2 separate regions of the Homo sapiens genome follow, and region 2 is linked to region 1. Evidence: promoter capture Hi-C in human tissues and cell types (Jung and others, 2019). All regions are on one chromosome and are shown on one strand. The core of a region is centred on a gene start or on the middle of the fragment in contact, and the rest is flanking DNA. Distances in the headings are between cores, read along the strand shown. Region 1 holds the start of IFNA16 (interferon alpha 16). Region 2 has its middle 210 kb from the start of SLC24A2.

Region 1 (5,144 bases), core at 862-3,361:
CTGAAATGAAACCTCCTCTATTATGGAAACCCCTGTGCACATTTCAAAATGTAGAATATTTTAATTGTTCAATGATATAAAGAATTTAAGTGAATCATTTAAAATAATGAATAATAAAATGTGTTTGGTTATTTTCTAAAATTGGTCCATTTCATAATCTCTACCTTTATATAAACAGGCTAATTTTCTACTAGTGTCATCTAAAGATTATCACGTGATTTGAAACTGAAATTTATAAATGATGGAAAAATGATGTCACAAGTATCTACCGTTCACATACACATTCTGGGGATTTGATCCAGGGAAGGAAAGCTGTAGGATTATTTGGGGGATAGAGGCTATTATTCCCTACTTTTGGGAATAGTAAATTGTCTGATTCCTATAAACTGTGTGAATTGGAGAGTTTGAAATTAGATATGTGACTCTGTATTTGACACCAGGCTACTTATTTTCTATTATCACAAAATAGAGGACAGATTAGAGATGAAGCCATAAATAGTTAACATAGTGCTAGCAAAGGATGATATTATGCTGCTCTTGCAACTTGTATCCCCAGATCTACATGAACCTTAAAAAAACTAGAATCCCAGTGGTTTAAGCAGTAAACTAAATGGGCATTATTGACTCTCAGTAAAAGCTGAATGGAAACTTTTGTCATTGTCTATTACAATCCCAGCAAATATGGCCATGAGGAAGCAAAATAGCTTCATTCTTGAACACTTTCCAGTAGAAGAAAAAATGAGAAACTAGTAAAAACTCCACTTACTAAATAGCTGATTTGCTAAAGCAGACCTCATTCCATTTAAAGACTCAGTATCTATAGGGCCAAGGCAAACTAACTTCTTAGGCAAAAGAAAAGGTAGAGTCAGAGTTCAGGACCACTCTGAAAATTAATTCTTTACATGATAATATATTCTAAGTCACATATGTCTATGTGATACTTCTCCTAAGGGTTCTCGAAGTATAAACTAACCTAACACATTACAATAGTTGGTGATTCTCTAACAACTCTGTCCAACAAAATTTCATTGCTTAATATACATCTCTCTCATTGGATTTTCTGCTGTATCACATGAGAAGCACTGATATTGAGTTCCTGAAGATACACAAAATATTTGCAAGATCAGTGTTACAAACCTATGGCAAATAGAAGACTGTGATAGGAGGACATTCTGTCCATTTTTGCTTGATCTTAAAATCTTATCATAATATGTGGCTTTAACCTGCACACCTTTGGGCTGCCATTGACTATCTTATGGTTATTGCTTATGTTTGATCCTCAGTTCTTCAGGATGTTTTGTAGACTTTGAGAATTCAATGCAAATAGCTTGTATCATATGATTTATTTCTAGTACAGTTATTCAACACATCAATATTTATGTCAAGTGCTGAAAAGAAAAAAGTGTTGGCAATATCTGGATGAATACTGCAGCTAGTAAAGTTTACAAATTATTTTCTCATATTAAGCAAAATTCAAAGCTTCATACACTATGAGAAAAATTTTAAAAAATTATTGATTCATATATTTAGTAGTTTTCAATGATTCAGTATGTAATTACATTCATATTAACGTGTATTTATATAGCTTTTATATTGCATATGTAATTTGATAAAATATAATTTACATTAATGAATTACACTAAAAGTTATTCCAGAAATATACTTATCAAATTAAGTTATATGTCAACAGCTTTTAAACTTAGATTTTAGTTTAACTTTTCTGTCATTCTTAACTTTACATTGAATAAAAAGAGCAAACTTTATAGTTTTTATCTGTGAAGTAGAGGTATACGTAGTATACATAAATAGATATGCCAAATCTGTGTTATTAAAATTTCATGAAGATTCCAATTAGTAAAAAATACCATAAAAGTCTTTGAGTGCAGGGGAAAAATAGGCAATGATGAACAAAATGAAAAACATATGTAAACACATGTAGAGAGTGCATAAAGAAAGCAAAAACAGAGATAGAAAGTAAAACCAGGGCATTTAGAAAATGGAAATTAGTATGTTCACTATTTAAGAACTATGCACAGAGCAAAGTCTTCAGAAAACCTAGAGGCCAAGGTTCAAGTTTACCCATCTCCAGTAGCCTAGCAATATTTGCAACATCCCAATGGCCCTGTCCTTTTCTTTACTGATGGCCGTGCTGGTGCTCAGCTACAAATCCATCTGTTCTCTGGGCTGTGATCTGCCTCAGACTCACAGCCTGGGTAATAGGAGGGCCTTGATACTCCTGGCACAAATGGGAAGAATCTCTCATTTCTCCTGCCTGAAGGACAGATATGATTTCGGATTCCCCCAGGAGGTGTTTGATGGCAACCAGTTCCAGAAGGCTCAAGCCATCTCTGCCTTCCATGAGATGATCCAGCAGACCTTCAATCTCTTCAGCACAAAGGATTCATCTGCTGCTTGGGATGAGACCCTCCTAGACAAATTCTACATTGAACTTTTCCAGCAACTGAATGACCTAGAAGCCTGTGTGACACAGGAGGTTGGGGTGGAAGAGATTGCCCTGATGAATGAGGACTCCATCCTGGCTGTGAGGAAATACTTTCAAAGAATCACTCTTTATCTGATGGGGAAGAAATACAGCCCTTGTGCCTGGGAGGTTGTCAGAGCAGAAATCATGAGATCCTTCTCTTTTTCAACAAACTTGCAAAAAGGATTAAGAAGGAAGGATTGAAAACTCATTCAACATGGAAATGATCCTCATTGATTAATACATCATCTCACACTTTCATGAGTTCTTCCATTTCAAAGACTCACTTCTATAACCACCACAAGTTGAATCAAAATTTTCAAATGTTTTCAGGAGTGTAAAGAAGCATCGTGTTTACCTGTGCAGGCACTAGTCCTTTACAGATGACCATGCTGATGTCTCTATTCATCTATTTATTTAAATATTTATTTATTTAACTATTTTTAAGGTTTAAATCATGTTTTATGTAATATCATGTGTACCTTTACATTTTGCTTAATGTAACAATATATGTTCTTCATATTTAGTTAATATATTAACTTCCTTTTCATTAAATTTTTACTATACAAAATTTCTTGTGTTTGTTTATTTTTTAAGATTAAATACCAAGCCTGACTGTATAACCTGACTTAAAAATAGATGATTTAAGTAAGTTACCTATCATAATTTTATTCAAGTTATAGAAAAATATATTTTTCTATACCACGTTATATGTTGCCTTCAGGATATAAACTTGAACATAAAAAATACAGTTCTTGTTGTCTTGTATCTTTGATTTTTGTCAGGAAATGTTTCTAAAAACAATAATAATGCTGAATTAATATCAGTTATACTAACTGCTGTAATGTGAGGAAGTAAAAAAAAACAATGAATTCCTCTTAGCAGAACATAGATTAAGAAATGTCTGCAAGTAAAAGTAGAGATACTCTCTATAAACTGACTTTCAACATGTAATTGAAAATGTACATTGCAAGTCAGATATATGAGTTTGCAGTTTCCAAGGAATACGATATCTGGAAGTTCATAACTGGCAATGGAAAGGCCTAAAATGAAGGCTGTCATGTGGGGAGCAAGCGGAGAGGGAAAAAAAGACTTAAACTGGATTCTGAGGAACTTCCACTATTAAAGTGGGGGAACAGAAGACACACAAAGAAAACAGAGGTGGAATACCTTATCATTAGAAGGACGAGAGGGAATGATGATAAAATGTATTTAGAAGGAATGATGATAAATGGTGCTGGAAAAACTGGATAGCCATAGGCAGAAAATTGAAACTGGACCACTTCCTTACACCTTATACAAAAATTAACTCAAGATGGATTAAAGACTTAAATGTAAAACCCAAAACCATAAAAACCCTAGAAAAAATGTAGGACACAGGATGGGCAAAGATTTTATGAAGAAATCGACAAAAGCAACTGCAACAAAAGCTAAAACTGACAAATGGCATCTAATTAGAGAACGTATGCACGCAAAAGAAACTATCCATCATCAGAGTGAACAGGCAACCCACAGAATGGGAGAAAATCTTTGCAGCCTACCCAACTGACACAGGTCTAATATCCAGAATGTACAAAAAAGAGCTTAAATTTACAAAAACAAAGAGCCCCATCAAAAAGTGGGTGAAGGATATGAACAGACTCTTCTTAAAAGTAGACATTTATGAGGCCAATAATCATTTAAAAACTCAACATCGCTGATCATTAGAGAAATGCGAATCAAAACCACAATGAAATACCATCTCATGCCACTCAGAATGGCAATTATTGAAGAGTCAAAATCAACAGATGCTGGTGAAGCTGTAGAAAAATAGGAAATCTTTTACACTGTTGGAGGGAATGTAAATTACTTCAACCATTGTGGAAGACAGTGTGGCGATTCATCAAGGATCTAGAACCAGAAATACCATTTGACCCAGCAATCCCATTACTGACTATATACCCAAAGGAATATAAATCGTTCTGTTATAAAATACATGAACGTGTATGTGTATTGCAGCACTGTTTATAATGGCAAAGACACGAAACCAACCCAAATGCCCATCAATAATACACTGGATTAAAACAAATTGTGATTAAAACCTAGGTGACGAGTTGATAGGTGAGGCAAACCACCATGGCACATGTATACCTATGTAACAAATCTGCACGTTCTGCACACCTATCCCGGAACTTACAGCAAAATTTAAAAAGAAAGTTGGTCAAAATCAGCTGAAAATACAACATGAACCAAGGAAATTCAGAGAGCAGGAGATGGTTGCGTATAAATGAGGAAAAAAGGAGATTAATAATTATTAAGGAAATCCTAACACAAAATTTACACATCCGGTAAAAATAATAACTTATTTTACATTGAAATTCCATTCTGCTTGTATATACTGTTTTTAGGCAGCCTAAAACAACAGAATTCTGTCATGAATTCTAGAGAGGCTGAAAAATTCTCACCTCATTTCAAAGTCCCATTTATATTCAGTCAGGAATGGTGGCTTGTATAAATACCTGTCAGAGGAGCAGCATCTAGAGTGAAGGGCAGAATACACGTGTCGATGGTTAACTGATTCTGGCACCTGGAACATTTGTTTCCTGGCTCTCAGAATCCCAGAGTACACTCCCATATGAAGTTACTCTCCTAAACTTAAGTAAAATATATATCTTTGCTGGTT
Region 2 (4,993 bases), core at 477-2,976, 1.2 Mb after region 1:
CAGATTTCTTCCGCAGGACAGTTCCCTTCTCTCCATGCAGACCTGAGCCAAAATAGAGTGCCAGGAGGGTGAGAGGGTGCGTTGTGAGGCATGCAGAGCACTCTCCACAGGTAAACCTGCAGCTTTGCAGGAAGGTGGATGCACACTCCCTCCTATCCTCAGCCCACTCATTGCTGGATCTAAGAGGACAGGATGTGTGGCGCAGCAGGGACAATGCAGGCTCTGCCATCAGAAACGAAGTGCTGATCCTCCAGGCTTTAACTTTCTCCTTTGTGGCCCACAAAATGCAACTGCCACGTTTGCATTTGATTGTTTATTTTTAAAGTGAGGGTGGGCCCATTAGAGCAATGGATGGGGAGAGAAAGGGCCTCAAAACGTGATCTTTGCTCTTGGATACCAAGATAATATTCATCTTACTATCCATTAGGGTCAGATGACCCTTCTAAGCTTAAAAAGCAATAATTCCAAGTTATGCTTCCTGCCTCCTTCCGTCCTCCACACCCTCTCATACATAACTTTTCTGTCTCAACAGTGATCCTGTTTTTCCCATGAAAGTTTTCTCTGTGTATAGAGGAGGAACAGTCTCACATTTTACTGTTAACTTAGTCTCTAGGGCATGTATATTTCCTGTCTTTATGCTTAAGGCAAAACTGGGGTCCATTCTTTAGTTCAAAATCAGAGCCTTAAAATTATATAACACTGACACATAAGAAACTCCAGTGCAAAAAAATGTGGCAGATATGGAGACTGCGGGAGAAGAGATCCATGTGTCGTGAGTTCCTGATCTTCACTGAGCTCCTACAGCAGTTATTGTTTGTTGCCAGGTGGTCTATTCTCAGGGCCGTTTGTGTTCTGATGTTTCTCCCTTGTCCTCCAATGAGACTGGATAAACTTTTTGAAGATAGAGTTTATACCTATACAATGTTTATCAAGAACTGGCACAAAAGTCTCTGAAACTCCAGTTGAAGGTATGTTTTCACCCTCTGATGATTATAGGGCAGTCTGGATCCAACCTGCCTAGGTCAAATTCTGTCTCTGCTACTAACTAGCTGCATACTAGCTACTTGGGCAAGATTCCTCCAATTCCTTATCCATAAAATAGGGAACTGTTATGAGCAAAGTCCATGTAATATGCTTAGCACAGTTTCTGGCACCTAATGGTACTTCAAAAGGTGAAATAATAATGTTCATTAAGTGCCAACCATTTCCATACATACTAGTTTAAAATCTTTTAAAGTAGGAATTATTACCTCCATTTTACAGCTAGAAAAATAGTAAATCAGAGAAATGTGGTTTTTTAGTTGCAGATCGATCACAAAGTGAGCAGCAGCACAGGTCTGTGTAACCCCAAAGACTGAGACTCCAGCACAGGTCTGTGTAACCCCAAAGACTGCAGTCTCTGAACCTCTCCACACTGTCTTGAACATTCAGGCCATTAAGACCCTGAACTGGGGAACTCCTAGTCTAGCTCTTTAGTCACTTGGCAAAATTGCCACCAGTGACCCGGATGAAGAGGTTGAAAACAGGCCCCTTCTAGACTTTGATTCTCAGCCATGGGTGTTGACTGCTTTGTGCCTCCTGGGTCCCCCTGATGAAACTCTGTGACTCTGGCTCAGGATGACTGTAAGGCAGGACACAGGAGGTCAGCCCTGTAATTCCATAACTGCTCACTCACTGACTGCTTAGTGAGAAACCATGATGACAGCTGGGATCCTTTCCGTGATGAGTAATTACCCTGTCACACAAATCTATTTAGACCACATCCTTCTGGGGTACAACCACCAGTTGATTTAAAATGCAAACCTTTTGTAGCTCATTGCCATGAGGATGAAATATAGAGTTTACTCAGACTTTTCTTTGTTGGAGTATTTATTGTAAATCATTAGTTACTATGAGTTGCTACCCATACATCAAGCAATTCCTACCTAGCCCTGAGTGCTGAAAGAATTCTCTGTGCTTTTCTAGAAAAGGTACCATTTGTCCAAGAATATAATTACTGTATACTTTTTAAAAATCCCAAGCTCATATATTTGTGTAGAGAAACTCAGGCCCAAGGACACCCAATTAACTGGGAACACTCAGTGTGGTTTTCAATACAGGAACCACAAGTCTTCAGGGATGTTAATGAACATGGATAATAAATGCCTCACCTACTACTCAGGCTTCCAGCCAGGGAGGCGAAGGAGTGACAGGCAAAGCCGTGGCTCCCTGCTCCAAGTCTTGCACTAAACACTTTATATAGGTCTTTAATTCTCCCAATAGCCCCAGTGGGTAGGCATTAGCATCTTCATTTTACAGATGAACAAATTGGGGATCCCCATCTTACACCATGAAGCAGTGGAACCAAAACTCATACTGAAAATAATTGACTTTCCCAAGTCTCTCTGCTATATCACCACACACAAAGAGACTTGCAGCCCCAGCTAGCTTATTTCTGGCTTCTGCTGGTCTGATTCTTCTGTGGGTGGCTTTAGAACAAATAGGATGGCTGAGGTCCCCCATCATCAGGGCTGCCGTTGAACATGAAGGAGGAAAGCTGCTATGTATAGCAAGCATTTTTATCTTGCCACCAACAAAGATCAAGCACACAAAATCTGAATCCCCCCAGGGGTGGGAGAAGGAGTGAGTTTCTATTTCTCCCAGACCATTCTGTCCAGAGCACACAGCAATATGGGCAGACAATTAGTATGAACGGATTTGAGCAAAACAGCAAATCTGATTGATGCTGAAAGCACACCCATGTGGGAGCACACAAAGGGATGGAGAAGAGGGGTGGTCATAGGAAGCGGGGCCTGCTTAAAAATTCTAATCCTCATAAGCTTCTGAGGAAGCTGCTCTTTTCACTGGGCAGGTTTTTAATATTTATTGCTGGGGGCTGTTTTAATCCTAATGAAAATAGCATGTCCCTAGGAAAAGAAATGCTGGAGCTACAATGAATGAATGTGGCTCTGGCATTTAAAATGTCTCACAAGGCTCACAGAGGGTAGAGGTGACCCGGAAGTGAATCATTGACAGGCTTCAGGAAGTACTGCTGCCAGAAGGAAGTTGAGCTCAAAACAGGGTATGTGTGGGCGAGTTCAGGCTGAGTTAACCCCTGAATGGGTCTGAATGGAAGACCCATTTCTGAAGAGGGGCACACTCAGAGTTCATCTGCCAGAGTTTGAATCCTAGCCCTGCCATGTCTAAATCTCAATCTCCCATCTCTAAAATGGAGAAAATGATAATTACAGATTTTGTTGTTTCATTGTGAAGACCAATTGAGACAATGAATGTAAATTACTTACCACAGCTTCCGGCACAGAGTAAGTGCTAAATAGTGAGAGATGCATTATTATTAATATAATTTTTATTATTGTATGGCTTATCCTTAATAGTATTGGCTTTTTTCCCAAAAATATAAGGATGCCAGGTATGAACTAAGAGATAGTAACTAGGAGGGCCTATTGGAAAGAGCCAGAGAAAATTAATGCTGAATCTTCTATTGATAAAATTCTGATTCAAATCTGATTCAAACTGAGAAGGAAATAAGAGCTTCTCTTTTGCAGTGAGGGACACAGGCAAATTAACTATTTATCCAAATACAGTTTCATTGGCAAATAAAATGTGTTGCCTGAGTCCAACCATGTCATCAAGTAAGATCTCAACAGAGCTGAATCTGTGTGTAATTCTGAAGACTGGAGTTTGTCTTGCTCACTCCTAGCTGCTGTTGTACGCCTGTTTTTTCATGAGTGGAATCATTTCTAACCACTCAGTAAATTCTCTCTGTTTACCTCTCCCCTTCTATAATAGTGGATCTGTGACTGGGGTTTCCCTTTCTGTTGTTGGGTGAGTCTGACACTTGCTGAGAGTGTGCTGAATGATCCTGACCACCTCCTCTGATCTTCTTGGGCTCACAAATGGGGACCTCAGTTCCTCACTCCAAGGAATAGCTTAAGAATGTAAAAGGTATCATGACCTAAACTAATATGGTACGTCCACTTCCATATGAAAGTCAAAATCAAAGTTGTATCAAACTGTAAAGTAAACTTACTTTTTGAGGTGACATAAAGCTTAAATGGGTACTGGAATTATCTTTATTCTAATTTCTCTCTTTCTCTTTCTCTTTCTTTCTGTGCCCCTGCTTTGCTGGTTCCCTAAACTCACACCTAGTCTGATTATTGCAAATCTAGCACCAAGACCAGATTCCAAAAATTATTAAGAAGAAACAGTAAAATTGTGATGACTAAGTTCTAAATCTCTCTTCTTGTCTTGAGGAAAATGCTCTGTGCTCTCTCTCGTAATTATTCTCAAGAAGCATGCCTAGTTGAAGAGCTCAGCAAATTGTTTGCTTTTTTTGCCTTTTTTTTTTCACCATCTTTTGCCTGCAATAATGGACAGTCTCCCAACTCGTTGTCTCCCTCTCTTTTGTCTTGTTCTCCTTTACTTCATTCTCCATGCTTTTACCACTGAGCGCTTTCTAAAATTCAAATCTAATAATGTTGCTACTTAGTTTAATACCTTCTAATGGCTCCTTATAACTAGAGCTACAATTCTCAAACCAGGGAAACGTACCACTTGGGGTAAGGTGTTACTCGTTATGGAGGGTGTGAAGGCATAGGATAATCATGATGGATCTCCTTTTTTTTTTTTTTTTTTTTTTGAGACGGAGTCTCACTCTTGTCACCCAGGCTGGAGTGGTGCAGTGGCACCATCTCGGCTCACTGCAACCTCCACCTCCCAGGTTCAAGCGATTCTCCTCCCTCAACCTCCTGAGTAGCTGGGATTCCAGGCACCTGCCAGCATGCCTGGCTTAGTTTTGTATTTTTTTAGTAGAGACAGGATTTCACCATGTTGGCCAGGCTGGTCTTGAACTCCTGACCTCAGGTGATCCACGCACCTCAGCCTCCCAAAGTGTGGGATTACAGGCATAAGCCACCGCACCTGGCATTGATGGATCTTCTTTAACGCCAAGAGTGATGAATGTGATGTATTCATATATTAACAAATATAAATA

Evidence for each region. Contacts are between HindIII fragments. The study calls those that stand out against the background at their distance.
Region 2: a contact is called between a fragment that was not itself captured here and the fragment with the promoter of IFNA16 in region 1, in 1 of the 25 tissues and cell types used here (dorsolateral prefrontal cortex).

The regions. Positions count from the first base shown.
Region 1 is chr9:21,214,278-21,219,421 of GRCh38, reverse strand. IFNA16 (interferon alpha 16) reads left to right here and starts at 2,111. Exons shown (of 1, transcript NM_002173.3): 1 at 2,111-3,049. The coding sequence starts at 2,117. The coding sequence ends at 2,686. The HindIII fragment of the contact is 8,956 bases long and covers 1-5,144 here.
Region 2 is chr9:19,996,392-20,001,384 of GRCh38, reverse strand. It overlaps a transcript of SLC24A2 not described here. Among named protein-coding and RNA genes, the nearest start is that of SLC24A2, 210 kb to the right of the region's middle. RefSeq lists an enhancer at 886-2,085. The HindIII fragment of the contact is 3,417 bases long and covers 18-3,434 here.